Regions from separate parts of the Homo sapiens genome. Here region 1 is linked to region 2. Evidence: promoter capture Hi-C in human tissues and cell types (Jung and others, 2019). All regions are on one chromosome and are shown on one strand. Each heading gives the region's core, a stretch centred on a gene start or on the middle of the fragment in contact. The rest is flanking DNA. Distances are from core to core; before and after follow the strand shown. Region 1 has its middle 23 kb from the start of AGXT. Region 2 holds the start of STK25 (serine/threonine kinase 25).

What was found. Contacts are between HindIII fragments. The study calls those that stand out against the background at their distance.
Region 1: a contact is called between a fragment that was not itself captured here and the fragment with the promoter of STK25 in region 2, in 1 of the 25 tissues and cell types used here (dorsolateral prefrontal cortex).

What each region holds. Positions count from the first base shown.
Region 1 is chr2:240,842,868-240,848,996 of GRCh38, reverse strand. No RefSeq gene overlaps it. Among named protein-coding and RNA genes, the nearest start is that of AGXT, 23 kb to the left of the region's middle. The HindIII fragment of the contact is 3,458 bases long and covers 2,207-5,664 here.
Region 2 is chr2:241,505,453-241,511,893 of GRCh38, reverse strand. STK25 (serine/threonine kinase 25) reads left to right here and starts at 3,310. Exons shown (of 12, transcript NM_001271977.2): 1 at 3,310-3,451; 2 at 3,759-3,888. The coding sequence starts at 3,859. LOC107985788 (a long non-coding RNA gene) reads right to left here and starts at 3,022. Exons shown (of 2, transcript XR_001739177.2): 1 at 2,797-3,022; 2 at 1,999-2,456. RefSeq lists silencers at 2,906-3,675, 3,956-4,005 and enhancers at 4,436-4,485, 5,641-6,177. The HindIII fragment of the contact is 21,130 bases long and covers 1-6,441 here.

The DNA of each region.
Region 1 (6,129 bases), core at 2,686-5,185, 660 kb after region 2:
CTAACACAGCAGTGCTCCCCACCCTCTAATGTACAGCGGTGCTCCCCACCCTCTAACACAACAGTGCTCCCCACTCTCTAACACACAGCAGTGCTCCCCACCCTCTAATGTACAGTGGTGCTCCCCACCCTCTAACGCACAGCAGTGCTCCTCACCCTCTAACACACAGCAGTGCTCTCCACCCTCTAACACAACAGTGCTCCCCACCCTCTAACACACAGCAGTGCTCCCCACCCTCTAATGTACAGCGGTGCTCCCCACCCTCTAACACACAGCAGTGCTCCCCACCCTCTAATGTACAGCGGTGCTCCCCACCCTCTAACACACAGCAGTGGTCTCCACTCTCTAACACAACAGTGCTCCCCACCCTCTAACACACAGCAGTGCTCCCCACCCTCTAACGCACAGCGGTGCTCCCCACCCACTAACACACAGCGGTGCTCCCCACCCTCTAACACACATCGGTGCTCCCCACCCTCTAATGTACAGTGATGCTCCCCACCCTCTAACACAACAGTGCTCCCCACTCTCTAACACACAGCAGTGCTCCCCACCCTCTAATGCACAGCAGTGCTCCTCACCCTCTAACACACAGCAGTGCTCTCCACTCTCTAACACAACAGTGCTCTTCACCCTCTAATGCACAGCAGTGCTCCCCACCCTCTAACGCACAGTGGTGCTCCCCACCCACTAACACACAGCGGTGCTCCCCACCCTCTAACGCACAGCCCTGCTCCCCACCCTCTAACGCACAGCGGTGCTCCCCACCCTCTAACGCACAGCGGTGCTCTTCACCCTCTAACGCACAGCGGTGCTCCCCACCCTCTAACGTACAGCGGTGCTCCCCACCCTCTAACGCACAGCGGTGCTCTTCACCCTCTAACGCACAGTGGTGCTCCCCACCCTCTAATGTACAGCGGTGCTCCTCACCCTCTAACGCACAATGGTGCTCCTCACCTTCTAATGTACAACGGTGCTCCTCACCCTCTAATGTACAATGGTGCTTGTCACACTCTAATGCACAACCATGCTCCTCACTCTCTAATGCCTAATGGTGCACCTCACCCTCTAAAGTACAGTGGTGCTCCTCTCCCTCTAATGCCCAACGGTGTTCCTTACCTCGAATGTACAACTGTAGTCCTTCTTCACATGGTGGCAGGAGAGAGAAGTGCAGAGTGAAGGGGGAAGAGCCTCTTATAAAACCATAGGATCTCATGATAACTCACTCACTATCATGAGAACAGGATAGGGGAAACTGTCCCCATGATTCAGTTACCTCCCACTGGGTTCTTCCCATGACATCTGGGAATTATGGGAACTACAATTCAAGATGAGATTTGGGTGGGGACACAGCCAAACCATATCACCTGTTAAGCTTCCCAAACCTTATCTATACAAATAGCCCCCAGAACTTCGGAGCACCAACTCCCACTCTTTGGAGTCTGTGCTCCCAGGTGGCTGTCCTTATGCTCTGTGCTCAAGTTAACTGTCCATTTCATCCTGTTTTCTGAATCTCTTTATTTAGGGTTGACAGGGAAGGGATTGGCCATGGTGCCTGGCACACGGGCAGCTCCTGGCAGGAGGCCAGCTGTGCCACAGGTCCGGCCAGTGCTCTCTGCAGGGCTGTGTGGCTGCCCTGCCCTGGCTGCCTGGCCAGCCCACTCTCTCAGATTCTCTCACCAGGGTCCAGACTCCCTGTCCCAGGAGTTTCTGGGCAGCGGAGAGGGAGAGAAGGAGGCAGGCCTGGAGGCTCACCTTCCCCCAGGATCTGAGCTTCCACCAGAAAGGAAACCAAAATATATCCCCCACAAATAAACTTCTTTGACATATTTTGAGATGGCTGTTCAGAGGGCCTGAAAACAGAAGCAGCCCTGCAAAGCTTTCTTTTGTGGGGAAATTTGCATCTGTATAGAAAACCTGCATTGATGCAGCCAGGCTTTTGCTGAGGCCCTCATTTTTCTGTATTTAGGAAAGATAAGCTGAGAGTCTGTATTAGCCTGTTCTCACGCTATCATAAAGAACTGCCTGAGACTGGGTAATTTTTTAAAGGAAGGAGGTTTAATTGACTCACAGTTATGCAGGGCTGGGGAGGCCTCAGGAAACTTACAATCATGGCAGAAGGGGAAGCAAAGACATCCTTCTTCACATGGAGGCAGGAAGGAGAAAGAGTGCCAAGCAAATGAGGAAGCCCCTTATAAAACCATCACATCCCATGAAAACTCACTCACTATCATGAGAAAAGCATGGCAGAAATTGCCCCCATGATTCAGTTACCTCCACCTGGTTCTGCCCTTGACACATGGGGATTATTACAATTCAAGGTGAGATTTGGGTGGGGACACAGAGCCAAACCATATCATTCCACCCCGGCCCCTCCCAAATCTCGTATCCTTACATTTCAAACACAATCATGCCCTCCCAATAGTCCCCCAAAGTCTTAGCTCATTTCAGCATTAACACAAAAGTCCAAGTCCAAAGTCTCATGTGAGACAAGGCAATTCCCTTCTGTCTATGAGCTTGTAAAATCAAAAGCTTGTTAGTTACTTCCTAGATACAATGAGGGTACAGGAATTGGGTAAATACACCCATTCCAAAAGGGAGAAATTGACCAAAACAAAGGGGCTACAGGCCCCATGCAAGTCTGAAATCCAACAGGGCAGTCATTAAACCTTAAAGTTCCAGAATGATCTCCTTTGACTCCATGTTTCACATCCAGGTCATGCTTATGCAAGAGGTGGTCTCCCATGGCCTTGGGCAACTCTGCCCCTGTGGCTTTGCAGGGTACAACACCTCCCCTCCCCCCACCTGGCTGCTCTCATGGGCTGGCTATGGAGTGTCTGCAGCTTTTCCAGATGTACAGCGCAAGGTGTCGGTGGATCTACCATTCTGGAGTTTGGAAGATGGTGGCCTTATTCTCACAGCTCCACTAGGCAGTGCCCCAGTGGGGACTCTGTGTGGGGGCTCTGACCCCACAGTCCCTTCTGTACTGCCCTAGTAGAGGTTCTCCATGAGGGCTCTGCCCTACAGCAAACTTCTGTCTGGACATTCTGGAAATTCCATACATCCTCTGAAATCTAGGGATTGGGAGCTCCCCAAACCTCAATTCTTGACTTCTGGGCACCCACAAGCCCATTAGCACATGGAAGCTGCCAAGGTTTAGGGCTTGCACCCTCTGAAGCAATGGCCTGAGCTGTATGTTGGCTCCTTTTAGCCATGGCTGGAGTGGCTGGGACGAAGGGCACTAAGTTCCAAGGCTGCACACAGCAGGGGGGCCCTGGACCCAACTCAGGAAACCCTTTTTCCCTCCTAGGCCTCTGGGCCCTTGATGGAAGGGGCTGCTGTGAAGGTCTCTGACATGCTCTGGAGACATTTTCCTCATTGTCTTGGTGATTAACACTCAGCTCTTCATTACTTATGCAAATTTCTGAAGCTGGCTTGAATTTCTCCCCAGAAAATGGGTTTTCTTTTCCATTGCATCATCAGGCTGCAAATTTTTCAAACTTTTATGCTCTGCTTCCTCTTGAACAGTTTGCCACTTAGAAATTTCTTCCACCAGATACACTAAATCATCTCTCTCAAGTTCAGCTTTCCATAGATCTCTAGGGCAGGGTCAAAATGCCCCCAGTCTCTTTGCACAGCAAGAGTAACCTCTATTCCCATTCCCAACAAGTTCCCCATCTCCATCTGAGATCACCTCAGCCTGGACTTCGTTGTCCATATCACTATTGGCATTTTGGTCAAAGCCATTCAATAATTCTCCAGGAAGTTCCAAACTTTCCCACATCTTTCTGTCTTCTGAACCCTCCAAGTCTCTAGGAAGTTCCAAACTTTCCCATATTTTCCTGTCTTCTTCTGAGCCCTCCAAACTGTTCCAAACTCTGCCTGTTACCCAGTTCCAAAGTTGTTTCCACATTTTTGGGTATCTTTACAGAAGCACCCCACTCTCTGTGGTAAGAGTTTACGATATTACTCCCTTCCCATGCTGCATTAAAGAACTGCCTGAGACTGGGTAATTTACAAAGGAAGGAGGTTTAATTGATTTACAGTTCCACAGGGCTGGGGAGGCCTCAGGAAATTTACAATCATGGTGGAAGGGGAAGCAAACATGTCCTTCTTCACATGATGGCAGGAAGGAGAAGGAATGCCAAGTGAAGCCCCTTATAAAATCATCAGATCTTGTGAGAACCCACTCACTATCAGGAGAACAGCATTGCAGAAACCACTCCTGTGATTCAATTATCTGCACTTGGTTCCACCCTTGACATGTGGTGGTTATTAAAATTCAAGGTAAGATTTGAGTGGGGACACAGAGCCAAACCATATCAGTCTGTCACCCTTAAAGGCTAAAAGCAGCATTTACCATTTGCTAGCTGTGAGGTCCCCTAACCTGGTGAGCCTGGCCTCCTCTTCTCCCCCTCCCAAAACCTGCCATGCCACTGGGATCTGTTTTTGGCCGTGCTTGAGCCTCCATTCTTTCTGTAACCTGTTCAAAGAAAAACCAAACTCCATAAAATATTTAAAGAGGTTTCTTCTGAGCCAATATGAGTGACCATGGCCCGGGGAACAGTCTCAAGAGTTCCTGAGAAAGTGTGCCCAGGGAGTCGGGTCACCGCTCGGTTTTATACATTTTAGGGAGACAGACGTTACAGGCAAAGACATAAATCAATACATGGAAGGTGTAAATTGCCTAAAGAGATGGGACATCTCCAAGTTGGGGTGCTTACAGGTCACAGATGGATTCAAAGATTTTCTGATTGACAATTGGTTGAAAGAGCTAGACTTTGTTTAAAGACTTGAAGTCAGTAGAAAGAAAGGCTTGGGTTAAGATAAGGGGGTTGTGGAGAGCACGGTTCTTGTTATGCAGTTGAAGCCTCCCAGGTCGCAGTCTTCAGAGAGAATAGAAGGTGAATGTCTGTTTTCAGACTTTGAAAGTGTCAGACCCTCATTTAATCTCCCTTAGATCCGGGAAAGGACTAGAAAGGAAGGCCTGGCTGCATTAATGGAGATTCTCTACAGATGCAAATTTCCCCCACAAAAGATGGCTTTGCAGGGCCATCTCAAAATATGTCAAAGAAATATAGTTTGGAGTAAAATACTTTTATTTCCTTCAGGGTCTGCCATCTGTCGTGTGAGGTTACACCAGAGTCAAGCTGGAATTTGGTGTCTTATTGCCACAAGGAGTCTGCTCTATCACTCTCATGATCTCTACTTTAAGGTTAGTGCTGCTCAGCTGTGCCTAAATCCCAAAACGGAGGGAGAATAAGGAGGTATGTCTGACCCCACTTCCTGTCATGGCTGGGAATTCAGCTTTTCAGGTTTCAGTGGAGTCTCCTTGGTCAAGAGGGGGTTGTTAGATATAAGTTCTAAATTTCTAGTCAAAGAATCAATATGTCAGTATGTTCAATTCTTTGCCTTCTACTGTTAAACTTAACTTCCTCATAAAGCAACATTTTCAATTACCTACTTCACCCAGACTCATTCCGATCACCTGCTCCCCCTGACTCATTCCCATCACCTGCTCCCCCGACTCATTCTGATTACCTACTTCACCCAGACTCATTCCGATCACCTGCTCCCCCCGACTCATTCCGATCACCTGCTCCCCCTGACTCATTCCAATCACCTGCTCCCCCGACTCATTCTGATTACCTACTTCACCCAGACTCATTCCGATCACCTGCTCCCCCCGACTCATTCTGATTACCTACTCCACCCTGACTCATTCCGATCACCTGCTCCCCCGACTCATTCTGATTACCTACTTCACCCAGACTCATTCCGATCACCTGCTCCCCCGACTCATTCTGATTACCTGCTCCCCCTGACTCATTCCGATCACCTGCTCCCCCTGACTCATTCCAATCACCTGCTCCCCCGACTCATTCTGATTACCTACTTCACCCAGACTCATTCCGATCACCTGCTCCCCCTGACTCATTCCGATCACCTGCTCCCCCTGACTCATTCCAATCACCTGCTCCCCCGACTCATTCTGATTACCTACTTCACCCAGACTCATTCCGATCACCTGCTCCCCCCGACTCATTCTGATTACCTACTCCACCCTGACTCATTCTGATTACCTGCTCCCCCGACTCATTCTGATTACCTACTTCACCCAGACTCATT
Region 2 (6,441 bases), core at 2,061-4,560:
CCAGGGCTCTGTATCCAATGGAGGGGGCTCAAGTGAAGGCTTCTTCCCCCCATTTCACTGTCACCAAGCTTTACCTCTGGACATTTGTGGCACTCACCTGCTGGGAACCCACTCCTTTCTCTGAACAGTTTCAGGGTTTAGCCTCCCTTCCTGAGCCCCTTTTGACAAGTTATCAGGTCCCTGGTAGGGAAAGAAGAACAAGCTCAAGTGCCCGATCTCTTATCTTAATCAGAAGGGGAACCCAGTTCTAATCCAGATGCTGCTATGCTGTCCTCTTTCTGGGTTTCATTTCCTTGTCTGTCAAACCAGAGGGTGGCTTGGCCAACTCACACCTGACCCAGGTTGACACAAAGTCCAACTCCAGCTTCTCTCCACTCCTACCTGAATTCCCAGCAGCATACAAACAGGACTCAGGAGACCTGGGTTCAATCCTGTCTTTGCCATATTCTGGTTGTGGCCTTGGGCACGTCCCTTTACCTCTTAGTTATCCCTTGCCTGCCTCGGAGGGCTGTTGCAGTCACCAAGTGACTGGACCTGAAGGTAAGCTGCCCAAGGGGCTCAATTGTGAGTGTTCCCTCCTCCCACCCAAGGTCAGCCTTGTCAATAATAAACACAGTGACTCTCTGAGCACCTGCCAAGGGCCAGGCCCGCCACATACGGTGTTATTCTCACAATCTACAAGAAAAGTACTATTAGCGCCATATTCCCAAGGAAGAAAGTGAGTGCCCAGAGAAAAAACTAAAATTTCTTGGAGGTGAAAAATAGAGACCAGGCTCAGTGGCTCACACCTGTACTCTGAAAGCACTTTGGAAGGCTGAGGCGGAAGGATCACTTGAGCTCAGGAGTTTGAGAACAGCCTGGACAGCATGGGGAGACCCCGTCTCCACAAAAATTAGCTGGGTGTGGTGACATGTGCCTGTGGACCCAGCTACATGGGGAGCTGAGGTGGGAGAACTGCTTGAGCCTGGGAGGTCGAGGTTGCAGTAAGCCAAAATTGCCGCACTGCATTCCAGCCTGGGTGGCAGAGTAAGACCTTATCTGGGAAAAAAAAAGAAAGAATCACTGAAAAGAAAATTTTTATATGAAAGTTGAAAGATAAAACCGAAGAATAAGGCCGAGCGTGGTGGCTCATGCCTGTAATCCCAGCACTTTGGGAGGCAGAGGTGGGCAGATCACGAGGTCAGGAGTTTGAGACTAGCCTGACCAACATGACCAACATGATGAAACCCCGTCTCTACTCAAAATACAAAAATTAGCCGGGGGTGGTGGCGCACGCCTATAATCCCAGCTACTCAGGACGCTGAGGCAGGAGAATCGCTTGAACCTGGGAAGCGGAGGTTACAGTGAGCCAAGATCGCACCACTGCACTCCAGCCTGGGAGACAGAGTGAGACTCCGTCTCAAAACAAACACACAAACAAACAAAAACCCCGAAGAATAACAGAAGTATACAACAACAAAAAAGAAATGGAAAACAAGAGAAACGGGATGAAGGGCCTGGAAGGTCAATGCAGGAAAAGACATGGTGATGATCACGTCCGGACGGCAGCTTAGCAAGACAGCAGCCAGGAGCAAAGGGTTAACAATTGGCCAAAAGCAGGCAAAGGCTGAAAAACTCTTCTAGGCACTTTTATTAATTTGTTTTTTGAGGCAGAGCCTTGCTCGGTCTCCCAGGCTGGAGTACTGTGGCATGATCTTGACTCACAGCAACCTCCAACTCCCAGGTTCAAGCGATTCTCCTGACTCAGCCTCCCTAGTAGCTGGGACTACAGGCACGCACTACCATGCCTGGCTAATTTTTGTATTTTTAGTAGAGATGAAGTTTCACCATGTTGGCTAGGCTGGCCCCGAACTCCCAACCTCAAGTGATCTGCCTGCCTCAGCCTCCCAAAGTGCTGGGATTACAGGTGTGAGCCACTGCTCCCAGCCTCTTCTAGGCACTTCGGAAAAGTGCAGCGATTACTGACCACACGAAGGCCAGAGATGCAGCAGGCATCTATTTACATGCATTAAATACATATATTATCTTCATGCATTTACACATTCATTCAACAAACATTACTGAGCGCCTGCCGTGGGCTGGCATGGTCCTGGGCACAGCTCCGCTTGCAGGAAGCCCACTTTCTCCTGGGGAGTCAAAGCACAAACAAAGCCAAGTCAGTACGTAAAGAAGCAGGGGTGATGAGAGATGCGGACCCAGGAGGGGTTCAAGGGGCTGTCCTGGACGCATGACAGGGAAGCATAGCTTCTTAAAGGACTCGGCAGTGCACCATGAGAAGACACGCACCAGGGAGCAGAGAGAAACGCCAGAACCCTCTCGAAGAAGGAGGGATGTGAGGAGGTCAGGATAGTCACCTGTGCTGAGCCATCATGGAGAGTGAGGGCCTGTAAGGGTGGACACAGTATGCAGGAGGGACAAATCTTCCTCACCGGACAGGTGGGGATCCCTGCGGTGCACTAGGGGAATGCACACAGGGGGCACTATGACCTGGCGGCCCACGGGGCACGGGGACGCACCAGGTAGCCTTGGGATCTGCAAGTCCCTCCCGGACCCTGGGGAGTGCCATGACGGCTTCCAGCAGCAGTCACTGTCCTGGGCGCGTCCCGCGCTCTAGCCCAGGTGGGTCCCACAACGGTGTGACCAAGGACGTCCTATGACCACCCCTTGACAGGTAAGGAAACTGAGGCAGGAGAGGCGAAGCAACTCGCCCAAGGAATGGGCTGTGCCGGTAGCTTCTCCAAGGCCTGGTGCGCCCTGGCCTGTGCGCGTGATCCCGGGCGGGGTCTCAGTACGAACAGGGGCTTCGCGATGTGGCCAGCGCGGGCTTATCTCCGTGCCGTGACGACAAGGCTAGAAGCCTGGGCGGCCGCGGTGGATCCTCGTGGCGAGGCGGGGAGGGCGCCGGGCCTCACTGGCCCGCTCGAACCAGGGCTGCGCAGGGCAGAGCCCAAGGGAGAGGGCCGCGCGGCCGCCGTAACGTCGGAGACGACGCCTGGCAGGCGCCAGCAAACGCAGAAGACCCGCGAGGGCGAGGCAGGGAGGGCGCGACGCGACAACGACCACGTGCCCCGCCCGCCCAGGCGCGCGGCCTGCCGGGAGACGCAGTCCAAACCTTTCGGGAGCAGGACTAGGGGTCCCAGAGAGCCTCGCGGCGCGCATGCGAGCCCCGGCCCCCTCTCGCGCAGCCTGCCGGGACTTGTAGTCCAACGCCAGCAGGCTTCCGGGCCCGGAGTGGGCGGTGGGACTCGGGGTCCCAGAGAGCCGTGCGCGGGCCGCGACGCCGAGCACCGCCCTCGCCGTCGCCTCCGGGCTTTCTCCGGTCGCTGCCGCCACCACCGTTGCTTCGCGGGCTGGGAGGCCCGGGGTCCCCGGGCGAACAGAGGCTGCGGGTGGGAGCCTTCGCGGGCGCTGCAGAGCGGGCCGGGGGAGGCCGGGATGGAGCCCCGCGGAGGTGGGCGCGCTGCCGGGCGGGGCGCTTGCGGCGATTGGGGAGGGGGCAGAGGGAGGGGCCCGGGGCGGGGCTCGGTGGCGGGGACACCGGGGCGGGGGCACCGGGAGGAAGCTGCCTTGGAAGAGGTGGGGGCGGCGACGGGAGGGGCGGCGAGCCCCCGGGAGCCTGGGCGTTAGGCCCGGGCGTGGCGGGGCCCCGGCGGCCTGGGGGGTCTCCTGGGCCCCCCCCCACCCATGGAGCCCGCCGCCCCGGAGGTCGGTCTCAGATGACTGAACTGGGCACCGAGCGCCCCTGGTGTCCCTCGCAGTGGACTGACGCCGCAGGGGCGAGCTAGCCGGCTCCGCGCCTCTCCGCGGGATCCAGACGCCTCCTGGGGCTGCTGGCGGAGGGTCTGAGGCGGCGCGGCCATGGCTCACCTCCGGGGATTTGCCAACCAGGTGAGAAGGGTGCAGGTCAGGAAGACTAGCGGCCTCTCACCGAGGGGCTCCAGAGTCTCCTGGGGGTTCAGAGGGGAGCGCCACGCCGGAGCGGGCAGTGGGGTGAGGGAAGGAGCGCGCGTCGTGCGACCAGCGGAGCCGTCCTGAGGTGGGCGCAGGGCGGCCCCGGGGCTCTGCCGTGTGCCTGTGGCGTTTTGCGTGGCAGAAGCTCGCAGGCCTCTAGAAACCGAGCCCCTGGTGGCTCCGCCTGTGCGAGGGCGGTGGAGGTGCGTGAAGAGACACCGGCGCAGGGACGGGGCGCTGCCCCCAGCGCGGGGCGGGAACCTCATGTCAGCATCCGAAGGCAGTGGAAGGTCGGGGGCCACCCTGCGGCCTCGGCCTGGGCCGCGGGTCATTCTGGCCGTGTTGGGCTGGGCAGGGGCTGTAGGGGAGACCCTGGCGGGCGCTGAGGGGCTGAGATTGTGGAGAAGCAGATCTGAGTGGCCGGTGTGCAGGGAAAGCAGAGAACACGTGTGTGCTTTGGCCCAGGGGAGGGTGAAAAGGCTGCTCTGTCAGGACCGTTTAACCCCTGCGACGGGCGGTTGCCCGAACATGAGACTCATCTTTCTTCTTTAAAGAAGTCGTTTCCACTATGGAGCCACCTTTAAGCGTCTGGTGGGACAGCCTCGGAGGGAGCCACTACGGCGAGCCCTTAGCCTGGAATGAGGACCAGCTGCTGGTGCCAAAGGGCTTGCCGGGGAAGGAGGGTGGGGTCAGCCAACCTGGGGCCTGGGGACTTGCATTCTCTACCCCTCCCCACTTTTTTGACTCTGGCCGCTGGGTTTTCTTACATCTTAGCTGTTCGGTTTTATTCTCCTTGATGCCTTGGCTCTACCTAAGGCGTTGGAATCGCCGCTAAAATGTGTGGCCCTCCTTGTTCACTCCTATGTGCTGAATGGAGAGTTGGGCCTGCAGTGGAACAGGAAGGGCGTCTGTTCGCGTAGGGGCAGGAACTGGAGTCAGGGCTGCTTTGGAGGAAACCGGACCAGCCTAGAGACCCGGAACACCATGTGCAGCTGTTGGGCCAGGCAACCTGGACCTGCGTGGTCACAGATGAGACTGGGGCTTGCTGACTGTTGCTGAATTAAGCTAACAGATTTTTGGTTTGCTTTTGGCATTCTGTATCTGGTAACTTACATGACTAAGGTGCTGGGAGAAAAATCTGCCACCAGTTTATTTTACTTTATTTTTATTTTTTTGAGACGGAGTTTCGCTTTTGTTGCCCAGGTTGGAGTGCAATGGTGCAATCTCAGCTCACTGCACCCTCTGCCTCCCAAGTACAAGCGATTCTCCTGTCTTGGCCTCCCAAGTAGCTTGGATTACAGGCATGCGCCACCATGCCCAGCTAATTTTGTATTTTTAGTAGAGACGGAGTTTCACCATGTTGGTCAGGCTGGTCTCAAACTCCTGACCTCAGGTGATCTGCTTGCCCTGGCCTCCCAACGTGCTGGGATTACAGGCATGAGCCACCGCGCTCGGCCACCAGTTTATTTTTAAGAACTGCAGAAATAACTCCTTTGGGTCACAGGATGAGAAATTGGAGCTCCGAGGTGCCCTGTAACTGTGTGCTATTGGTTCTTGGTGCGATCGCACACAGGGAAGGGAGTGCGGGCACATTGGAGAAGGGATTCCAAAGGTAGGAAGCTCCTTTTGTCCTTTTAGGGATCCCTTTGTCCCAGCCTGGATGATGAGAGACTTGACTTCATATAGTGGCAGAAAACCTGAGGGGCTGTGGTTTTCTCCTGAGATGGTTGCCATGGTGTCCTGTGGACCTGTGGGGCAGCCCCTTTGTGGGAGAGTGGGGCGCGTTCCCCCCATAGCCTGTGCTCCTGCCTTAGACTTCTCCCCTCTACCTGGCCAGTTCCTGCCTGGCCCTGGAGGGCCCGAATGGCTGTGGGGTGCCAGAGCACTGTATCACCACTCAGCTATGTGTGCTGGGTCATTCCCCTTGTTTTGTGGGGCAACACTGACAGCAGACACATTGGCAAGTGGAGGCCCCAGACCTGGCAGCCCCAGGGCTAATGTGGAGAACAGGTGTCCACCGCTCGAGTCAGCTGAGTGGCCCGAGTGATCATCCAGGCCACAGCTGCTGCTACATCCAAAAGAGGATTCGCAGCCTCCAGGCCAGGGGCCCACTTACCCTTTCTTCTCCAGGTGGGGGTGGGGATGGCTTGCCTTGGCTTGGCCTGCGATGTCATTGTAGGGCCAGGATCACAGCCAAGAGGGTTCCTGTCACACAGTTTCTGCTTGGGCTGATGAGCCCTGGCTCTGGCTTAGGGGTCCGCTGTGCTCCCCTGCTGTGAAGCAGTAGAGGTCTGAGTGCCCACCCAGGGGTTTCCCTACCGGGGCTGCTGTGATGGAGCAGATTCAGCTCCAGGCCCTGTGTGGAGAGCAGCATGGCCTCAGCAGGGAGCAGGGAGTAGAGCAGGGCGGGAGGACGCGTCATCCAGAGAGGCCTGAAGAGTCGGAGGGGTGGTGGTGCTGGGTAATGCTGCCAGGTCATGGCCCTGCTTT